Linked DNA regions of Homo sapiens: region 1 is linked to region 2. The links are contacts of gene promoters, found by promoter capture Hi-C in blood cells and fetal thymus (Javierre and others, 2016). All regions are on one chromosome and are shown on one strand. The core of a region is centred on a gene start or on the middle of the fragment in contact, and the rest is flanking DNA. Distances in the headings are between cores, read along the strand shown. Region 1 has its middle 34 kb from the start of EN1. Region 2 holds the start of C1QL2 (complement C1q like 2).

The links. The method cuts DNA at HindIII sites, captures the fragments that hold promoters and counts their contacts. A CHiCAGO score of 5 or more calls a contact.
Region 1: a contact is called between a fragment that was not itself captured here and the fragment with the promoter of C1QL2 in region 2, in 10 of 17 cell types (M0 macrophages, M1 macrophages, M2 macrophages and 7 more). The highest score is 16.9, in M0 macrophages.

What each region holds. Positions count from the first base shown.
Region 1 is chr2:118,879,286-118,884,278 of GRCh38, reverse strand. No RefSeq gene overlaps it. Among named protein-coding and RNA genes, the nearest start is that of EN1, 34 kb to the right of the region's middle. RefSeq lists a silencer at 2,455-2,514. The HindIII fragment of the contact is 3,569 bases long and covers 381-3,949 here.
Region 2 is chr2:119,154,996-119,160,356 of GRCh38, reverse strand. C1QL2 (complement C1q like 2) reads left to right here and starts at 1,606. Exons shown (of 2, transcript NM_182528.4): 1 at 1,606-2,771; 2 at 3,376-4,114. The coding sequence starts at 2,088. The coding sequence ends at 3,555. RefSeq lists an enhancer at 2,428-3,238. The HindIII fragment of the contact is 3,837 bases long and covers 1-3,163 here.

The sequences.
Region 1 (4,993 bases), core at 916-3,415, 280 kb after region 2:
TACAACTGCAGGGCCCCTTCTTCACCCCTATCCAGCAGGAAGTAGCTAGAGCAGTCATCTCCCAATTCCCAACAGCAGTTGGGGTGTCCTGTTTAGAGGGGAGATTGAGAGATGAAGCCAGCTGGACTTCCTGGGTCTAGTGGGGACTTGGAGAACTTTTGTGTCAAGCTAAAGGATTGTAAATGCACCAATCAGAACTCTGCAAATATGCATCAATCAGCGCTCTGTGTCTAACTAAAGGATTGTAAAATGGACCAATCAGCACTCTGTAAAATGGACCAATCATCAGAAGGTGGGCAGGGACAAATAAGGGAATAAAAGCTGGCCACCCCAGCCAGCAGCAGCAACCTGCTGGGATCCCCTTCTATGCTGTGGAAGCTTAGTTCTTTCCTTCTTCACAATAAATCTTGCTACTGCTCAGTCTTTGGGTTTGCACCACTTTTAAGAGCTATAACACTCGCCATAAAGGTCCGCGACTTCATTCTTCAAGTCAGCCAGACCAAGAACTCACTGGAAGGAACCAACTCCGGACACAAAAGGAGATCCTGAGGCCTAGAGAGGGGAGGTGACTTGCCCACTTCTTGCTGCCCAGTGGCATAAGCAACATGGTGTTTTAAACCCTGGGAACTTGAAGACATAGGGACAGTTGCTTTGGGGGAACCATACACATTGCTCAGCTCTGCACACTTTCAGGGTCAGCTATCTGAAACCACTTAGCATACTCACTCGAGTCTCCTGAATTTGGTGGCATGAAAGAATTTATTTCTTGATGCATTTCTACAAACAAGGTCCTCGATAAGCAGGACAAATACAAAAAGAAAGTCAAAAATAGATGTTGAAAAATGAAAGAAAACTATCAGACAAACAAGAGACGAAAACCACACAGGATTTTAAATGGGAAAGTTAAGAATTATTAACTAATAACAGGGGAGTATCAGGGTATTGGCTACTGAGGGTAAAGGGAGCACTTTACAGAGGTGGCAGATATATGGGGCAGGCACTAAAGGCTAAGCGAAGTGCCCGAGGAGAAAACAAATGTGGGACACCCCACCCGCTTCCCCTCTCACCACCAAGGATGAGAATCAGACTTTGCGGGAGAGCATGGGGCTGTCCCCACTGGAGAATGAAGTTTGCCCAGGTGACAGGTGGAGACTGTCCAACAGGAAACTGCCCCCGGGGGTGACAGCAACCCTTTCCGGGAAGCTGCCTGGAGGAAACGCTGCTGAACTTTCTGAAAAATCGGCTGGGGGACTGGTGGGACGGCGAAGCCCTCAAGGGGTGCTTTTGAACTCACTGGAAGCTGGGCGAGGTGCCAGCAGAACTCGCTAGAAAGCTGCACACAGGGGATGCCACTGCAAGTCCTTGAGGGAGGCTGCAACTGGGTGTCCCGAACCCCGCGGGAGCAAGAAGGAATCAGAGCACAGAGACACCAGCAGAGAAGCCCTTCCCCCTGCAGTGTGCCTCTACCACCCTCTACTGGCAAAGCTGAGCATCGTGCCAGTTGCAAAAGAGACGTGTTGGCAAGATTCACCTCCAGTATCACAAGCAATGCAATGAAGTATGGGTTGGGAGAAGTGAGGCAATAAAGTGATAAGTGACACACTCATAACCTGGAACACAACTATTGAGGTAGTGTGCCCCTTTGGTCCTAGGCATTGCCCCCAAAGTCTCAGCCTTTCAAGTTTTCTCACTCTCTTTCTACCCCCAGGTCTTCCCTTATGGCTACACCGGATGATGTTCATGAATGTCATGGAAGCTGAAAACAGTCCCGCTTGGGTCTCAGAAGCTGAGGGTATTAGACAGGAAGGGTCACTTAGCCAGGCTGACCTCGTGTCCAGGTTTGCACCTGCTGTCCCAACCACTGTCCTGTTAGTGCTCCCTCCCACTCTCCCAAGTGTCCTGCTCAGGTGATAAATTACATGGTTCCCTGAAGGCAACCAGCCTGAGTCCAGTCCCATGACTTTACAGATGAGGAAACTCCTACACTGATGTCGAAGAAGAGGCTCTGTGGGGACGTGGGGAGGACTGGACTTGGCTTTAATGTGCAACTTTGGCTTGTTGTTAAGCCTCTATCTAAAATGGTCCACCAAGAGGTAAAATGAGGTCATGTGTGCAGAGCATCAGGCATACATCGTGACCTGAGGGATGGGATGCGCCAACCTCTGCCATGTAGCTCTTCCATCTGCCCACCTCCCCAATCCCTATCCATATTCCCCAGTCTGTCTTCCAGACAGAAACAACAGGGCACATTTATAACAGTGGAGCAAAATACCCCTTCAGAATAGACACTGCTAACAGAAAAGTTCCAGGGTGCAAATCTCAATGTTTGGAAAGGAGGATCAGAGCTGTAAACGCCCAGGGATTGCTAAGCAAGAAGAGGATATTGAGCACTCTCTCCAGTTCATGCCTCTGTCTCCTCAAAGTCCCTCTTCCTGATGGCTACCAGAGGCTTAGAGAAAGCAACCAGGAGCAAACGCCTCTCTCTGGGTAGGCCGGTCCAGCTCAGGTGCACCTATTCCATGGCAAAAAAACAGCCCACGATCTCCACCTGGTGGCCAAGCTATAGAACACACTCCCTCGCCAACTGCTGATCAACCTGTTGAGCAGCTACCCTGCGGCCATTTACAAAAGAAACACAGGCTGGGACCTTCTCTACAGGTGACCTGATGGTGGCTGCTCCTGGAGGCTGATTGGAAGCACGTGTCTGTCTCAGGCCACACTTTGACATGGCACGAGAGACTTCTCTGCCACGCTTGCTGCCCTGGATCCAGAACAGGTTACTCCAGGGTTTCTCAGCCTCAGTACTCTGAACATTTGGGGCTGGATATTTCTTTGTTGGGGGTGGGGTGAGGCCATCCTGTGCATTGCATGATGTTTAGCAGCATCTCTGGCCTCTACTTACGAGATGCCTGTAACAACCCGCTTAGTTAGGGCAACCAAAAATGTCTCCAGATGTTGCCAAAGTCCTATGCAGGAGAGGCAAGACACAAAATCGCCCTCAGTTGAGAATCACTAGGCTACTTAACCAGTCAAGCCTTCGGCACTTATAACGATAGAGACTGATTTTGGACTTGGGTTCCACACAGCATTCTGCAAGCCATTGCAGTTTCCAGTGAGCTGCTTTCTTGGACGCCAGTTAGAACCTGTCATCAGTAGCTCATGGTTTAGGTTTTGAGGAAGGTCTCCTTTTTCTCTGCTTCCAGCATGCTAATTTTGTTTTTTTGAACAAGCTAATGGCATCTCAAGGAAAGGGACCATGTCTTTTCCTTTCCTTGGGCTGCTTTCAGAGACAAGCATGGTGCTTGGAACTTAGGTGCTCAGCATGTAGGTGCTCCAAAGCGCCTGCAGGTTCACAAAGTCAGTCCCCTTCCACGGACCGCAGTGTCTCTCAAAATTATGACTGCCCTGCCTGGAAACCTCCTTGGCCTCTTTTCCTTGGAACCATAGCTAATGAAGAGATCCATCTCATCTCCACCTACATCTCCCGCTGGTGGGCAATCTAATTAGGTTCTTTCTACAATTAACTATTCGTAATTAAAGAGGAGCAAAGCCCATGTGTCATTCTTTAACTCCATCCGTTAAACAACAATGTCCAATTTTGAAATCCCTCTTCAGACAAGGAGAAGTGGTGCATGTGTGGGCTAAGAATTCTCCAGATATGCTAACCTAAATTTAATTATGCAAGGAGAACAGAGGTTTCACTTCATTGTTCCTGGAAGTACTGTAATTAAAACTCAATTAGGGGTGGCACTGGCCAGCATCATTACTCGAGAGTCACCCTGTTGAAGAGACAAACAGCTCAGTGTGCTCATGCAGACATCATCCTGAAGCCTTTGCAAGTAAAGGGGTCATCCAGATCATCCTCTGTCTTCCAGCATCTTCTAAAAGCACCATTTGTTTAACTGATTTCTCTTCATTTTTAACTGTTTAAAACTGTTCTAGCCAAGCTTCCAGGTCAAAAGACGAAACAGCCATTCAGATATCTTGTCTAATCATAGTTCATCAAGTACTTATGATGGGATGGGTGCTTCACACACAGTGTCTTATTTGATCTTTACATTAACCGTAGGAAGTAGGCATCATCCTTATGTAAAGATAGAGGAATAAAGTCTCAAAGAAGTTAAAGAATATTCCATTGGCATCAGTGGAAAGCGGTGGTGCCAGGATTTAAATGGACAAGTCTGCTACTAGAGTCTGTACTCTTAAACATTGTGTTATATTGGCGTTTTGAAAAAGTTTTCCAAATATCTGATATTTGACATCAGAGAGAGACTTCCTCTGTCTGGTTTTGACTGTAAACCCAACACACACATACCAAATACAGGGGATCCTGAATTCTTCTTGCACACATTGCGTTAGCAAGAAGGCTGATGAGCTGGAAGGCTTTGTGTGGGTCCAGTCAATGCACCACTGCCAGAGAAACACATTCGAGGCCCAGTCCACAACTGTAGTGGGGCTGTCTGCACAGATCACCCACACCAGCAGACAATCTGTATGGCTCCTTCTCAGGAGATCCACCAAGAGTGCCTGCCAATGAGTGAGGCATCTTACCTGGGGCCACCACTTGCAGTTGGCAAATTGTGTCCTTCTCAGGGGCACCTACCAAGGGGTGAGTGTACCTGAGTGTCAGCTTGCACTGCACCCCAGGCAAATAAATGGCAACTCTTCTACTTTTCTTTTCTTTTTTTTTTTCCTTGAGACGGAGTCTCACTCTTGTTGCCCAGGCTGGAGTGCAATAGTGTGATCTTGACTGACTGCAACAACGGCCTTCCAGGCTCAAGCGATTCTTCTGCCTCATCCTCCCAAATAGCTGGGATTACAGGCACCCACCACCACGCCCAGCTAATCTTTGTATTTTTATTAGAGACAGCATTTCACCATGTTGGCCAGGCTCGTCTCAACCTCCTGACCTCAGGAGATCCACCTACCTTGGCCTCCCAAAGTGCTGGGATTAAAGGTATGAGCCACTGTGCCTAGCCCCTCTTCTGCTTTT
Region 2 (5,361 bases), core at 357-2,856:
CCCGTAAGAACCTAGTGCAGGACAAATGAGAGTTAGCTTCAAAGCAATAGCCTTAGGTGGGTGCACTGTTGTTCCAGAGATGCTGATGCTACACCAAACACTGACACCAGCCCTTAGATTCTCCCCCCAGGACAGGCCTGGTGTGATTCCCATGTTGGGGGTGCTAGGGCAGGAGGCGGCCTTTTAAGGAAACTGAGTCTCAGGGACAGGAACCACCTGGCAAAATCACACAGCTACTCAGGGCAAGAGCAGAAGCTGGGGCTTTGATTTCTCCGCTGGAAGTCTCTCCCACACCGGCGGGCCTCTCATCCTTCCTTAGCCTCACATGCTACATTGGAGATAGACTATTCTGCTCTCATCTGAGGCCATGGTTTATTCAAGACTGGCTCAGAATGGCTTTGGACTATTTGGACTATTTTCTAAAATAACTAAACCCATCTCAGGAGGAGGAAGCTGGGGATGTCCAAGGGAATGTGCCCATGCATCTGCCTGGCAGTGGCCGGGCTTGGAGTAGAAGCTGAGTGCACCATGATCACTGCCAAGTGCCGGCATCAAGCATTTGGTTTCTACACCAGCTTCACGCAGAGGACAAGGGCCAGCCATTTTCTGGTGGAAGAAAAGGTCTGAGGCGAATATTCCTTTTTTTTTTTTTTTTTTTTGAGATGGACTTTTGCTTTTGTTGCCCAGGCTGGAGTGCAATGGCACGATCCCGCCTCACCGCAACCTCTGCCTCTCTGGTTCAAGCGACTCTCCTGCCTCAGCCTTCCGCGTAGCTGGGATTACGGGCATGCACCACCATGCCCAGTTAATTTTGTGTTTTTAGTACAGACGGGGTTTCATCATGTTGGTCAGGCTGGTCTCAAACTCCCAACCTCAGGTGATCTGCCCGCTTCGGCCTCCCAAAGTGTTGGGATCACAGGCGTGAGCCACTGCGCCCGGCCGCAAATATTCTTGTATTGGGAGCCTTGGGCTTTTTAGAGTCACCTCAGAGGTTAGTGGGGTGCTCTACGGGAGCCTGTTTAAGAGTCTGGAGTCCTTAGTCTAGGTTTGCGAAAGATCTTCCAGAAGCGAGATCTATTCAATTCTGAAGAAATAACTCAGGAGGTCTTTCAGAAACTCCTTCCCGCTGGACCTCACGGGACTCTCCTGGACTCGGTGGGTTGAGGTTTGATCCTCTTTGCAGGCCAGGGGATGGATTAGGTGACCCCAGAGGAGCCCTGCTGACACCTGGATTCCAGCTGCTTTCGTGGCCATGTGGGGGTGGCTGTGCGTGCCCCGCCACTGCGTGCGTGGGTGTCTGTGTGTGTTATCGGTGGGGGGCGCGTGAGTGTGGCCGCGGGTGGGTGTGTCCGATGTGCCCCGGCTTGGGACCGCGCCCGCTGCGCCCACTTGTGGCTCCTGGGAGCCGCCAGGGGGAACCGCGCCTTCACCGCCTCTGCCGAGGACGCCGCCAGATAGGAGGCTGATGACATGAGGGCTCCGTCTCCCGAGTGATGGCAGCGCGCGCTGCTTCGCCGCCTCCGCCGCTCAGCCCCGGACTCCTTACGTCAGGGTAGCGGGGTCCCCCCTCCGCGCGGGAGCCAGCGAACAGCGAGAGAGCACAGCAGAGCGCGCCGCGGAGCCGGGGCGCCCTCACTGCGCTAGGAGCCCCACTAAACCCAGCGGAGCGGAGCCTGGCGGGAGGCAGCGCCGCGGAGCCAGCGCCGGACGCCGCAAGCAGACTCCCCGGCCAGCGCAAGCACTCCCTGGCCGGCGCCGGACCCTCGGGGCGCCGGATTCGTCTTGTGTGCCCCACGTCATGCGCGCGGGCGTCCGCGGCTCTCCCGACCAGCCCCAGCGCGGTGGGCCCAGGCTCAGAGGTCCCGGCGCCTCTCGCTGAAGTAGTTGGGTAGCCGGGGCTGGGGGTCGCCACGTCGGGGGCGCGGCCAGGACCCGCGGAGCCGGTCCCCGAGCGCGGGGAGCGGGGCCGCCCGCGCCGCCCCACCATTACCTCCCCGGGCGGCAAGGAGGAGCTGGTGGCGGTCGCCTCCCGGCTGTGGCAGCGGCGGCGGCGTGCCTGCCTGGCGGCCGTCGGCGTACTCTTGGCCATGGCGCTCGGGCTGCTCATCGCCGTGCCGCTGCTGCTGCAGGCGGCGCCCCGAGGCGCCGCGCACTATGAGATGATGGGCACCTGCCGCATGATCTGCGACCCTTACACTGCCGCGCCCGGCGGGGAGCCCCCGGGTGCAAAGGCGCAGCCACCCGGACCCAGCACCGCCGCCCTGGAAGTCATGCAGGACCTCAGCGCCAACCCTCCTCCTCCTTTCATCCAGGGACCCAAGGGCGACCCGGGGCGACCGGGCAAGCCAGGGCCGCGGGGGCCCCCTGGAGAGCCGGGCCCGCCTGGACCCAGGGGCCCTCCGGGAGAGAAGGGCGACTCGGGGCGGCCCGGGCTGCCAGGGCTGCAACTGACGGCGGGCACGGCCAGCGGCGTCGGGGTGGTGGGCGGCGGGGCCGGGGTAGGTGGCGATTCCGAGGGTGAAGTGACCAGTGCGCTGAGCGCCACCTTCAGCGGCCCCAAGATCGCCTTCTATGTGGGTCTCAAGAGCCCCCACGAAGGCTATGAGGTGCTGAAGTTCGATGACGTGGTCACCAACCTCGGCAATCACTATGACCCCACCACGGGCAAGTTCAGCTGCCAGGTACGCGGCATCTACTTCTTCACCTACCACATCCTCATGCGCGGCGGCGACGGCACCAGCATGTGGGCGGACCTCTGCAAGAACGGGCAGGTCAGTGACCCCTACACTCACCGGCCCCCGTAAACCCTCGCCCGCGCCCTGAACCTCCCAGGGAACCAGCCTCCTTTCTCTCCACCCGCGGGCTACCCTGCGAGCCCCGGGAATGAACGCGCCTCGGTGCCACAGTATCTCCGCTTCCCGATGCGCCGAGGCCGCGCTCACCGGGACGTAGAGCCAAATGTTGGGCCTTGAGAGCCCAGAGACCCCCATACCTAAACTACACTCCTTGGCCACTTGCGTCCCTGCCTGCCTCTCCGTGGGCTTCTCGGAAACCTCAGTTCTTTAGTTCTCTCCAGGTCGCCCCCTTGCCCTGCAGCCTCCTTTCCTCTTGGCCCTGGCCCCTGGCTCCCACCCTTCCACTCTGGGTCAGTGTTCATGAAGCTTCCCCTCTCCCTATTTCCCAGACTCGTCGGCGCGAGGAGGAGGGGGGACCTGGAAGGAGTTGACTAAGTTGGAGAGAGAACATGGAGCTGGGGTGGGAGTGTGGACCCTGAAGCAGCAGGCGGGAGGCCCGTGAGTGGCGCGCCTGGTGTGGGCTGAGCAAAGGCGCGGGAAGAGGTGCCCCGGCTCACCTGCTCCCACCGCTTGTCCCCAGGTCCGGGCCAGCGCCATTGCACAGGACGCCGACCAGAACTACGACTACGCCAGTAACAGCGTGGTGCTGCACTTGGATTCAGGGGACGAAGTGTATGTGAAGCTGGATGGCGGGAAGGCTCACGGAGGCAATAATAACAAGTACAGCACGTTCTCGGGCTTTCTTCTGTACCCGGATTAGGGGCGCGGGGGGTGCGAGGCGGGGTGGCTGCAGGCCGCCCGGTCTCCGCCCGGGCGCGGCTCCTTGGCAAAGGCCACTCTCGATTCATAACACTTCCTGACATCTCCTTTGGAAAAGACAAATCCCTGCGTCCTCCCTGCCCCGCTCCTGGCCTCAGTGCGTCTGCGACCCACCACGCTCAGGGCTGTGCTCCTGGTCTCCATCCCCATCCCGGCAAGGGAGGAAGGGACGCCCGAGCCCTTGAGGCGGCGGCACAGACTTTGCAAACCTGATTAGACTGGACAGGCAGGGCCGGGAGCCTGCCCTCCTCAGACAGCCTCCTCCCAGTGCCTAGAAGCGGAGGGCTCCGGGCCCTGGCCAGGGAGGTAGGCCAGAGGGAGCGCGGGCTTCCTGGGGCGTCCTTCTTTGTGACCCGAAATACTTGTGCAGATTTCCCTGTCCATCAGCCAAAACCCCACCCACAGCAGAATTCCAGCAAACAGAAAATTCACCTCTCCACACCGCATTCCCTCCTGACTCAGACTCACCGCGATGCATTAAATTATGTTTTTAGACTATGCGTTCTGTTGTCTGTATGTCGACACATCCTGGACCAGGGCTCCAGATGTCCGCCTTGGCATAAAGACCTTACCTGGGCCCAGGATAGGCCCATCTATGACCTGCTCCCCAGCCGCTGCTATGTCCCTGCCACCAGAAGTTGCCGAAAAGACATGGGGTAAATGGGAGCTGCATCCCACCCTTCCCAGAAGCTCTCCCCAGGCTGCAGCCCTGAGCTGGAGAGGCCGGAGGTGGGGTTGGGAGGAGGGGAGGAGGCGGGGAAAGGCATCAGGGAGAGTTAGAGGAAAGCAGGAGAGGAATGATTGGGTCTCCAGTCTTGGGCAACTTGGGCAACTTAGTCCTCCCGGAGTTGTGGGTGGAGGTCAGAGGGGAGGGGCTTCTGGGGAAGGAAGGGGAAGAGAAGGCATCTATGGGAAATGGGAGGCGTGAGTGACACTTGCCGGGGAGGGATCTGTAGGATGTTTGGCTCCTAAAAGGAAGTGCAGAAGTCCCTAGCAGACACACACCCGCTCGAGCGGATGGTTCACTAAGCACAGGCCTGTTTACTCACAGCCGCCAGGGCCACCGCTCTCCGGAGAGCTGGTAAACTGAGGCAATTCCGCGGATCATCCAGCTTGCTGAACTTCCTCAGGGCTGTGTGTTGAGGTGGACACCATTCCTTGGGGAGGGACGCCTCTTTCCTGCGGGCTTCCCTTCCCTTATGCATGCGATTTGGGGTGCCTGCTCTGAACCTGAGTGTGTGTGTTTGGTGTCCCATCAGCATTCTACACACACACAAGTTAGGAAAACACCCCGCATGGTTTTGATTTTTTTCTTTTTACTTTTTTTTTGTTGTCAGATCACTGAGTTACAACAAAGTTATGTACAAAATAACCAGTCAGCTCCCAGCAACCTGTTAGTGCTTACTGAGGTCACTTTTACGGGTTGTGTGAAAAGAAATGTGTGAGTATACACAAAAAGGCAACCCCAGGGTGTGTGTATCTGTGTAAAGCTGGAGATTGTGTGTGTGTGTGTGTATCTCCTATGTGGATGTGATGTTGTGATTGTCCTCACGTAATCCACATTACACATGTACACACACTTATATTCATAAGTCCATGTCAGTGTGGTGTGTGACAATGTTCATGCTGCATTTCTGGCCCCAAATTGCTTTGTGCTCGACTTTAGTTCCTGGAGAATGCTGAAAGCTGTGATTCCCATTTAAAAGACAACTATACCCCCTGCCTTGAGTCCTGTTGCTGTCGCTAT